Regions from separate parts of the Homo sapiens genome. Here regions 1 and 3 are each linked to region 2. The links are contacts of gene promoters, found by promoter capture Hi-C in blood cells and fetal thymus (Javierre and others, 2016). All regions are on one chromosome and are shown on one strand. Each heading gives the region's core, a stretch centred on a gene start or on the middle of the fragment in contact. The rest is flanking DNA. Distances are from core to core; before and after follow the strand shown.

Evidence for each region. The method cuts DNA at HindIII sites, captures the fragments that hold promoters and counts their contacts. A CHiCAGO score of 5 or more calls a contact.
Region 1: a fragment that was not itself captured here is called in contact with the fragment with the promoter of OR1A2 in region 2 in 1 of 17 cell types (M1 macrophages); the score reaches 5.8 in M1 macrophages.
Region 3: a fragment that was not itself captured here is called in contact with the fragment with the promoter of OR1A2 in region 2 in 1 of 17 cell types (M1 macrophages); the score reaches 5.1 in M1 macrophages.

Annotation. Positions count from the first base shown.
Region 1 is chr17:3,080,648-3,083,437 of GRCh38, forward strand. No RefSeq gene overlaps it. Among named protein-coding and RNA genes, the nearest start is that of OR1D5, 18 kb to the left of the region's middle. The HindIII fragment of the contact is 1,573 bases long and covers 642-2,214 here.
Region 2 is chr17:3,196,082-3,199,087 of GRCh38, forward strand. OR1A2 (olfactory receptor family 1 subfamily A member 2) reads left to right here and starts at 1,438. Exons shown (of 1, transcript NM_012352.3): 1 at 1,438-2,367. The coding sequence starts at 1,438. The coding sequence ends at 2,367. The HindIII fragment of the contact is 7,515 bases long and covers 1-3,006 here.
Region 3 is chr17:3,304,019-3,307,027 of GRCh38, forward strand. All of the region lies in intron 2 of OR3A2 (olfactory receptor family 3 subfamily A member 2), which reads right to left. Among named protein-coding and RNA genes, the nearest start is that of OR3A1, 7.2 kb to the left of the region's middle. The HindIII fragment of the contact is 1,873 bases long and covers 690-2,562 here.

The sequences.
Region 1 (2,790 bases), core at 178-2,677, 120 kb before region 2:
TTCAATGTCCATTATCACTTTCAACATTTTGTCCAAAACTATTCAACAAATCTCTAGGAAGTTCCCAACTTTCCTACATCTTCCTCTCTTCTTCTGAGTCTTCTAAACTGTTCCAACCTCTGCTCCTTACCCAGTTCCAAAGTTGCTTCTACATTTTCAGGTATCTTTATAGAGGTACCCTACTCCGCTGATACCAATTTTCTGTATTAGTCCATTTTCACATTGCTATAAAAACTACCTGACACTGGATAATGTATATAAAAAAAGAGGTTTAATTGACTCACATTTTTGCATAGCTGGGGAAGCATTCAGGAAACTTACAATCATGGCAGAAAGTGAAAGGGAAGCAAGGTACATCTTACATGGCAGCAGGGGAGAGAGAGGGGCGGGGGACGTGCCACACTTCTAAACTATCAGATCTCAGGAGAACTCACTCACTATCATGAGAATAACATGAGGAAAATCTGCTGCCATGGTCCAATCACCTCCCACCAGGTTCCTCCCCTGACACTAAGGGTTACAATTTGAAGTGAGATTTGGGTGGAGACACAGAGCCAAACCACATCACTTGGTTATTATTTGCATGGAATGTATTTTTCTTCTTCCCTTAACTTTCAGTTTCTGTGTGTCCTTAAATTTAAAGCTTGTGTCTTGTAGAAAGCACATAGTTGGATCATGTATTTTAATTCATTCAGCTGCTGTATATATTTTGAATAATGAGTGTGATTTTCTTATACTTGAAGTAATTATTGAAGTAATTACTGATAGGCAGACACTTACTATGGTCAATTTGTGATTGTGTTCTGCCTTTTTTGTCAGTCTTTGGTTCTCTTTCTCAAAGAAATACCTCCCTTCTTTGTTTCTATCTGACCACAGTGAGTCAATCATGCCATTACCCCCCTGTGATCTCTGTGAGGTGAGACTGGAGTGGGCATCCTGATAGGTATCTTGGAATGCTGGGAAAGACTGATGCCCATCTCTTATTGTATTTTTTGTGATCTGATGATTTTTTAAAATAGTGATATAATTTTATCCTTTTTTCTTTATTTTTAAGTTACTTTTATTTATTAATTTTAAGAGACAGGGTTTCACTCTGTTGCCCAGGCTGGATTGCAGTGGCACGATCCTAGCTTACTGTGGTCTCCAGCTCCTAGGCTGAAGGGATACTCCCACTTCAGCTTCCTGAGTGGCTGAGACTACAGGCACATGCCACCATGCCCTGTCAATCTTATTTTTTTATTGTACAATGGCTTTTTCCTTGTGGTCACCATGAGGTTTGGATAGAAATTCTTATAACAATCTGTTTGAAGCTGATAACAACTTATCCACATAGAAAAACTCCACACATAATCTTCACACTTCCACATATATCTCCTTGATTTCAGAATTTACATATTTTTATATTTTTTTGTAGTTATTTGTATTCTTAATTATTTTCCAAATGAATTTAATTTTCTATCTGTATATTCTTGTAGTTCACTGAACTTCTTTAAGAGGACAATTCTGGATTTATTGTGAATCCTTTCATGGATCTTCATTTTTGCAGGATTTATCGTTATATCTTTATTAGTTTTTTTTCTTTTGGAGGTGTCATGATTCCCTGATTCTTCATAATCCTTGTGTCTTTTGTTGGTGTCTGCACATTGAGGAAATAGTCAGCTCTTCCAGATTTTACAGGTATTCTTGGGATAGACCTTCACTCTTAAGTCTAGCCTGTGATTTTGGATGGGCCAGCTGGTAATGACATGGAATAGACAGAGCCTGCCATCAGGTTCTCTCATTTGTGGGGCCAAGGCCTTTGCTCTGAGGTTGGAATGGGACTACTGGCTAGGCTCCATTTTCCGTTAGACCACAGGCTTGGCTTTGGAATCAGGCAGAACTTCTGGCTGGGTGCTGCAATTGCTTCTGATTGGGCTGAAACACAGGGTATGTTCACTGGCCAGGCAGGACCTCTATTTGAGTTCTGCAATTGGGTCAGGCTGCAGGTTGGACCCCAAGGTTAGTCAGAATTACTACTTGGGATGATCAGGATCAGCTGCTATGATCAGAGAGATGTATGGTTGAGGCTTGGCTCCCTGTCAGGGTGAAGCCCTGGAGTGGGTTTTGAGGCTGATGTGAACTGCTATTTCAATTTTTGGGTGGTCTAAGTTTAGCCCATTGTTTACTGAAAGGCATTGTATTGGGCAACACCCTCCCTGGGTGGGGTCTTGGATAAGCTTTGAGGCTGACTTGAGAGCTGTTTGAATTTCTGGGTGGTGTAAGTCAGGCTTTGTACTTTGCCAACAGTTGCCGTGTTTCATTTCTCCCTCGCTGGATGGCGTCTTGAGGTGGGCTTTGAGGACGAGCTGAGCTGGTACCTTTGATTGGATGCCTCTGCAGGCCACAGCACAGAGCACCATCAAAATGTGAGCACTAGTTGCTGTGAGCAATACCTCCATTCTTTGTTTCTATCTGACCACAGGCAGTGAGCCATGTCATTACCCCCTGTGATCTCTGTGAGGTGAGACTGGAGTGGGCATCCTGAGAGATGTCTCAGAATGCTAGGGAAGCTAGATGTCCATCTTCAGCTCCCTTTTCCCACTGTAGAAACTGTGGGCCCAGGGAAATTCTCTGTTTATGGCACTGTGCCATGTTGAGGGAGGGCAAGGGACAATGTGGTTGAAGTGAGTGCATTTCTCTTGCTCTTCAAATGCAGTTCTTATTTGTTTCTGTGATACACACAAGTATTTCAGGCTTATTCTCAAGGTTTGGGGGTTTTCACTGAGGTATACTTGTCTGTGGATAGCTGCT
Region 2 (3,006 bases), core at 188-2,687:
TAGCAGGATGACTGAATATGGAAATATGGGAAAAAGAAATCGAGACCACAGATACAGACATGACAGTTTACTAAAGAATAGTTGAATCCACTGTGGACTTGGATTACTACAAAAAGAAATAAGGAAGACAAGGAAGAGAAGACTGCTATGGATTGAGTTTGCCCTCACCAAAACTCATGTTGAAATGTGATCCCCAGTGTGGGAGGTGTTGGGAGGTAAAGCCTAGTGGGAAGCGTTTGAGTCAAGGGGGTGGATCCCTCATGAGTGGTCTGGTGCTGTTCTCATGGTAGTAAGTGTGTTCTCATTCTCTCAAGACTGGATTAATCTTAAGGGAATGTTCCTACAGGAGTGGGTTGTGATAAAACCAGTATACTTCTCGGGTTTTCTCTCTTCCCCTGTATCCACTTCCCTGTTGACCTTCTCTGACAGGTTATGATGCAGCAAGAAAGCCCTTGCCAGAAGCCAGGGCCACGCTCTTGAATGTCCCAGCCTACAGATCCATGAGACAATTCAACCTCTTTTCTTATAAATTCCCCAGTCTCAAGTATTCTGTTATAGCAACACAAAATGAACCAAGACAAAGGCCAGTGGAAAAAGCACTGTGATTATGTATAGTTATGGGCTTTGAAAAGAGAGAAAAGCTGTCAAAAAGATAGGGAATATCTTTGAAAATCGAACACCTGTGGAGTAAGTTCACTGAGCTTGTTTTTCTAGGACCTAATGCCAGTTGTCTTTCTGTTTTAGAATCTGATGGCAGTGTAGACACCTCTGACTTCCTGGGCTCTGGGCTCACCCCGAGACTGGTTGGAGGAACAACTTTAAATTGTTCACTGCATTCCTACTATGATACATCCTTTGCACTGGAGGATTTTTTGTTTGTTTTTTTCACAAGGACTCCAAGAGGCTATCCTTTTCTTACCATGTGTAATAAAATTATTGTGTGAGTCTGGCTTTCCTATTCAATTATAAGGTCCTTGAGAACAGATGCTATGTCTTGTGTAACAAATAAGTGGATGAATAACTGTATTTTCACATATTTATTGTTTCTCTACAAAGTAAAAAAAAATCTAAGACATGAAACATGAAATTAGGTTTTTGTTATGTGATTAAATTATAGATATTAAGGTGGTGGTGCTACATTTGGAAGGACAACCATCTTTACTTCACAGATCGCTAACTTCTTTGACATGAGTGTCCAGGAGGTCAATGAGAGTTCGTCCCATTGACCAACAGAGATTTTACCCAAAAGTGCTGGCTATATTTATGATTGTAAAAACCAGGTATAGCCATGGCTAATGAAAAGTGGTGGATAAGTTTGACAGCAGGTGAATTTGTAAAATAATTAAAAACGTTTAAGTGGTAGATAAGGCAGACTATAACACACACTAACTGCGCTAATAATTCTGGGTTCCTCTCCCCTTTCATGCTGAAGAAGCCATGAAGAAAGAAAATCAATCCTTTAACCTGGATTTTATTCTCCTGGGAGTTACTAGTCAGCAAGAACAGAATAATGTCTTCTTTGTGATTTTTTTGTGCATTTACCCCATCACACTGACTGGAAATCTGCTCATCATCTTGGCCATCTGTGCTGACATTCGCCTTCACAACCCCATGTATTTTCTCCTTGCCAACCTCTCCTTGGTTGACATCATCTTCTCATCCGTAACCATCCCTAAGGTGCTGGCCAACCATCTCTTGGGGAGCAAGTTCATCTCCTTTGGGGGATGCCTAATGCAGATGTATTTCATGATAGCCTTGGCCAAGGCAGACAGCTATACCTTGGCTGCAATGGCATACGATCGAGCTGTGGCCATCAGCTGCCCACTTCATTACACAACAATTATGAGTCCACGGTCTTGTATCCTGCTTATTGCTGGGTCTTGGGTGATTGGAAACACCAGTGCTCTCCCCCACACTCTGCTCACAGCTAGTTTGTCCTTCTGTGGCAACCAGGAAGTAGCCAATTTCTACTGTGACATTATGCCTTTGCTGAAGTTGTCCTGTTCTGACGTCCACTTTAATGTGAAGATGATGTACCTAGGGGTCGGCGTTTTCTCTTTGCCATTACTATGCATCATTGTCTCCTATGTTCAGGTCTTTTCCACAGTCTTCCAAGTTCCATCTACCAAGAGTCTATTCAAAGCCTTCTGCACCTGTGGCTCCCACCTCACAGTTGTTTTTTTATATTATGGTACAACGATGGGCATGTATTTCCGCCCTCTGACCAGTTACAGCCCCAAAGATGCAGTGATAACTGTGATGTATGTGGCAGTGACCCCAGCATTAAATCCTTTCATCTATAGTCTGAGAAATTGGGATATGAAGGCAGCCCTACAGAAACTCTTCAGCAAGAGAATCTCCTCATAGCCGCTGTGAGATTACACGCTGGATACTGTAATGACCAAGTGGGATACACTTGGAAATCCAGCTCCAATGTCATTGCCCTTCAAGAAGCTCCTTTTGTTCTTTTGAGCCAGAAATTCCTCTACCAGAAATCTTGTAACGGATGTGATATTTTATTGAAATTATCACTTTGGACAAATTCCTGCTCTTTTTTGAGAGAGTGGCAGGCTGGGAATATCAGGTTCATGTCCCAGTTAGCAGAAATTTACTAGCAGAGTAAAGTTGAAAAAGTCTGAGTCTCAGCTTGCATATCTACATGTTAGGAAAATAATATCTGCCGGACTCTCTGACACAGCTTGTGTATATCAAAATGGCTCATGCTTTGAAGGCTGCAAATTACTATTCTAATGTAATCTTTACTGGACTTTTATGTCTAGCCACCCCTACTATACTTGTACTCTGGTGGCAAAAGCTGTGTTAACATATCACTTACTTTTTTAGTATTTTGATCATATAAAATATTGGTGGAAAGCAGGAAAATGTATAAAAATATTAGTTTCTGAAATACAATCTGATAATGAATAAACATAATCAAACTGCATAGTATTCATTCATGTATTATAGAGCTGGTATGTCTGTTAAGGTCAGTTAAGATCCATGCAG
Region 3 (3,009 bases), core at 376-2,875, 110 kb after region 2:
AAAATAACAGTAAGCCAAAGTAACAGTAAGCCAAAAATAAAGCAGACTCTACATGTATTGCAGCTTGGCTTTGATTAGGGGGACTGAGACAACACTCTTTGTAGGACTCTACACAACCTGTGTGATGGCTGGTGAGCACATGAACCATTCTTGGCTCTACGCCTCAGAGACTTTTCCTTCCTACTGCCTTATAGTGTTTTTCTCTCCGGATGTTAGAGTTTTCTCTCATGCACACACAGATTCCAATGCAGCCAAGGACCGGCGAAGACCCACCTGCAGGACTCTGGAGCTGTCTATCTGTGAAGCTCCCTCTTCTCCAGTACTTTCCCTCACCAATTCGTGCTGCCACAGCCAGCCTGAACTCTGTCTCCTCAATTCAGAAGACCACTGGGCTCTGTTTGGGTTCTCCTTGCCCTGGGTGTGGTTGGCCACTCTTTCTGGCAATAAGCTGAGGCAACTGTATTTCTCACACTGCTCTAGAGGTAAGGATTCACCGTCCTGCCCTGCATGGTATCCACTGCTTCATAGATTTTGTTTGGTTTCTTAGCTGTTTAAAATGGGAGAGTAAATCTGGTCCCTGTCACTTCATCATCATGGCCAGAGTAGTTTTCTAAGGAAATACAATTTCCCAAAACTGTTTACGAAGAAAAAGAAAATTTAAACAGAACAAAAAACAGAAATATTGACAAAGCTTTGGTCCTCCCTTCCTTCAAAAGCCTGCGGTCCATATGATTTCATAGGAGAATTCTACCAATCATTTAAAAACAAACTAGGTATATTCATACGATGGAATACTTCAGCAATAAAAAATAAACTATTGATACATGCTACAACATGAATGACTATAAAATCCATTATGTTGAGTAAAGGAAGCCTTACATAAAGGCATATGCACTGTACGATTCCACTTATATAAAGTTTTAGAATAGGTAGAATTAATCTATGTTGAAAAAATCAGAACAATAATTGTTTTTGAGTAGTCATTTTTTAACTGGAGAAAGGTACGGGGTAACATTTTTGGGTGCTGGCAATGTTCTGTATTTTGGTAAGTGTATGCATTTGTCAAAACTCAGTAAGTGTGCACTTCACATTTCTGTGTTTCACTGCATATTAAGTTTGCATAAACAACAGACATAAACATATTGAAGTTGTGTTATGATATGCATGCTTAAGTATTTAGGGGGACATGTACTGATGTCTGCGTCTAGAGGGGTGGAGAGGTATGTCTTCGTTTTTTTCCTTCACAGTTGACAGAGTTAAAATACCTCTGTTAACCACCAATCCACCAGGCCTTGAAGCCAATCAAAACTCCCCTTGAAACAAAGATATAGGCAAGGAATATGAAGAATATAAGCAGGGGATATGAAGACTACATGTTTCCCTGCCCCTTATATAAAATATAACTGAGTAATTTTTACTTTTGTCATGAGGTAACAAGGAATCTAGTCTTGGGAATGTAGAGTATCAATGGAAGAGACGAGATCCTTGCACAAATTAGGGAGGTAGAGATTACTCATGACATAGGACAAAAATCAGAGATGCAAATACTTTGTTGTATTATTATTCATAATGGCAAAAAATTGAAAACTAAGTATGCAATGGTTAAGTGAATGTTAGCACATGCAAATGGTAGCATATTAGAAAATCATAAAATTTTGAAGAATAATATATTACACGAAGCTCAAATATAAAGACAGTAAAAGAAAGTTGAAAATAAAATTCTATTAAATATCATACCTTTTGTAATAAAATTCTATTAAATATCATACCTTTTGTAAACCACAAATGATTAGACGTGTGTGGACACGTGCATAGGAATAGTGATTAGGTGGTAATTATTTGGTTCGTGCCTTCCTTCTTTATGAGCTGATAAGCTCCATGTAGGGAGGGAGCATGTCTGTATTTGGTCACCTCTTTACTAGCATATTACCTGAAAAATAGTACTGTGCTCAATTAATAGATGCCAAATAATGAGTGGCAGGATCCTATCTCTGTTAAGCAAGGTGAAGAGGAGCATTTGGTGTGCGGAACAAGCAGCTCTGGATACTCAAGAAGGTGGTTCAGCAGCTCAGTGGAAGAACAAGCCAACAGTGGCTGAGCTCCACTGGAGGCTCTGCCTTTTTTGGTTGTTGTTTGTTTGCCTGTTTTTTTAGAGACAGGCCTTGCTCTGTTACCCAGGCCGAAATTCTATGGCGCCATCATAGCTCAACGCAGCCTCAAACTCCTGGCCTCAAGCAATCCTCCTACCTTAGCCTCCCAAGTAGCTGGGACTACATGTTTGTGCCACCACAGTCAGCTAATTTTTTTTGTAGAGACAGGGTTTCATTATGTTGCCCCTGATCTAGAACGCCTGGCCTCAAGCAATCCCCCCACTCCAGCCTCCCAAACTGTTGGGATTAGAGGCACAAGCCACCGCATCCAGCCACCCCCATTTTGATGAGGTTACTTCCTCATCCAGGAGGCACCAGATGTAATGCAGTTACCTAGATGCTCCCACTCCCCCTTCCAATTCCTACAAATATATAGAGTGTTTGTGGGGGGTGGGGTCCCTTTCTACTGAAAAGCTTGCCATAGTGTGTGTAGTCTAGTGACGCTCAACCTTAGCCCCTCTCCATGTGGAATAGGGAGAGTGCAGGGGATCACTGTGCTCTACTACTCTTCAAAAAAAAAAAAAAAACCGTAACCCCTTTTATTTTCTCCACTTAAAATCAAATAGAAAACAAAAACCACTAATATCTTCAAAAGACATTGTTAGTGTAAGAGAAAGACTAAGAACCACTTAAAATCAAATAGAAAACAAAAACCACTAATAACTTCAAAAGACATTGTTAGTGTAAGAGAAAGACTAAGAACAAAAATTGGGTTTATAGAGTCAAACATAAGTGAGTGTCACTCTTATACTTCCAAGTTTTTCCACAACAAGGCATGTGGTTCAACTGGATTTACACACGCACGCGTGCTTGTGTGTGTGCGCATTTTGTACAAAAGGTTTTGTACATCTTGGGTTCC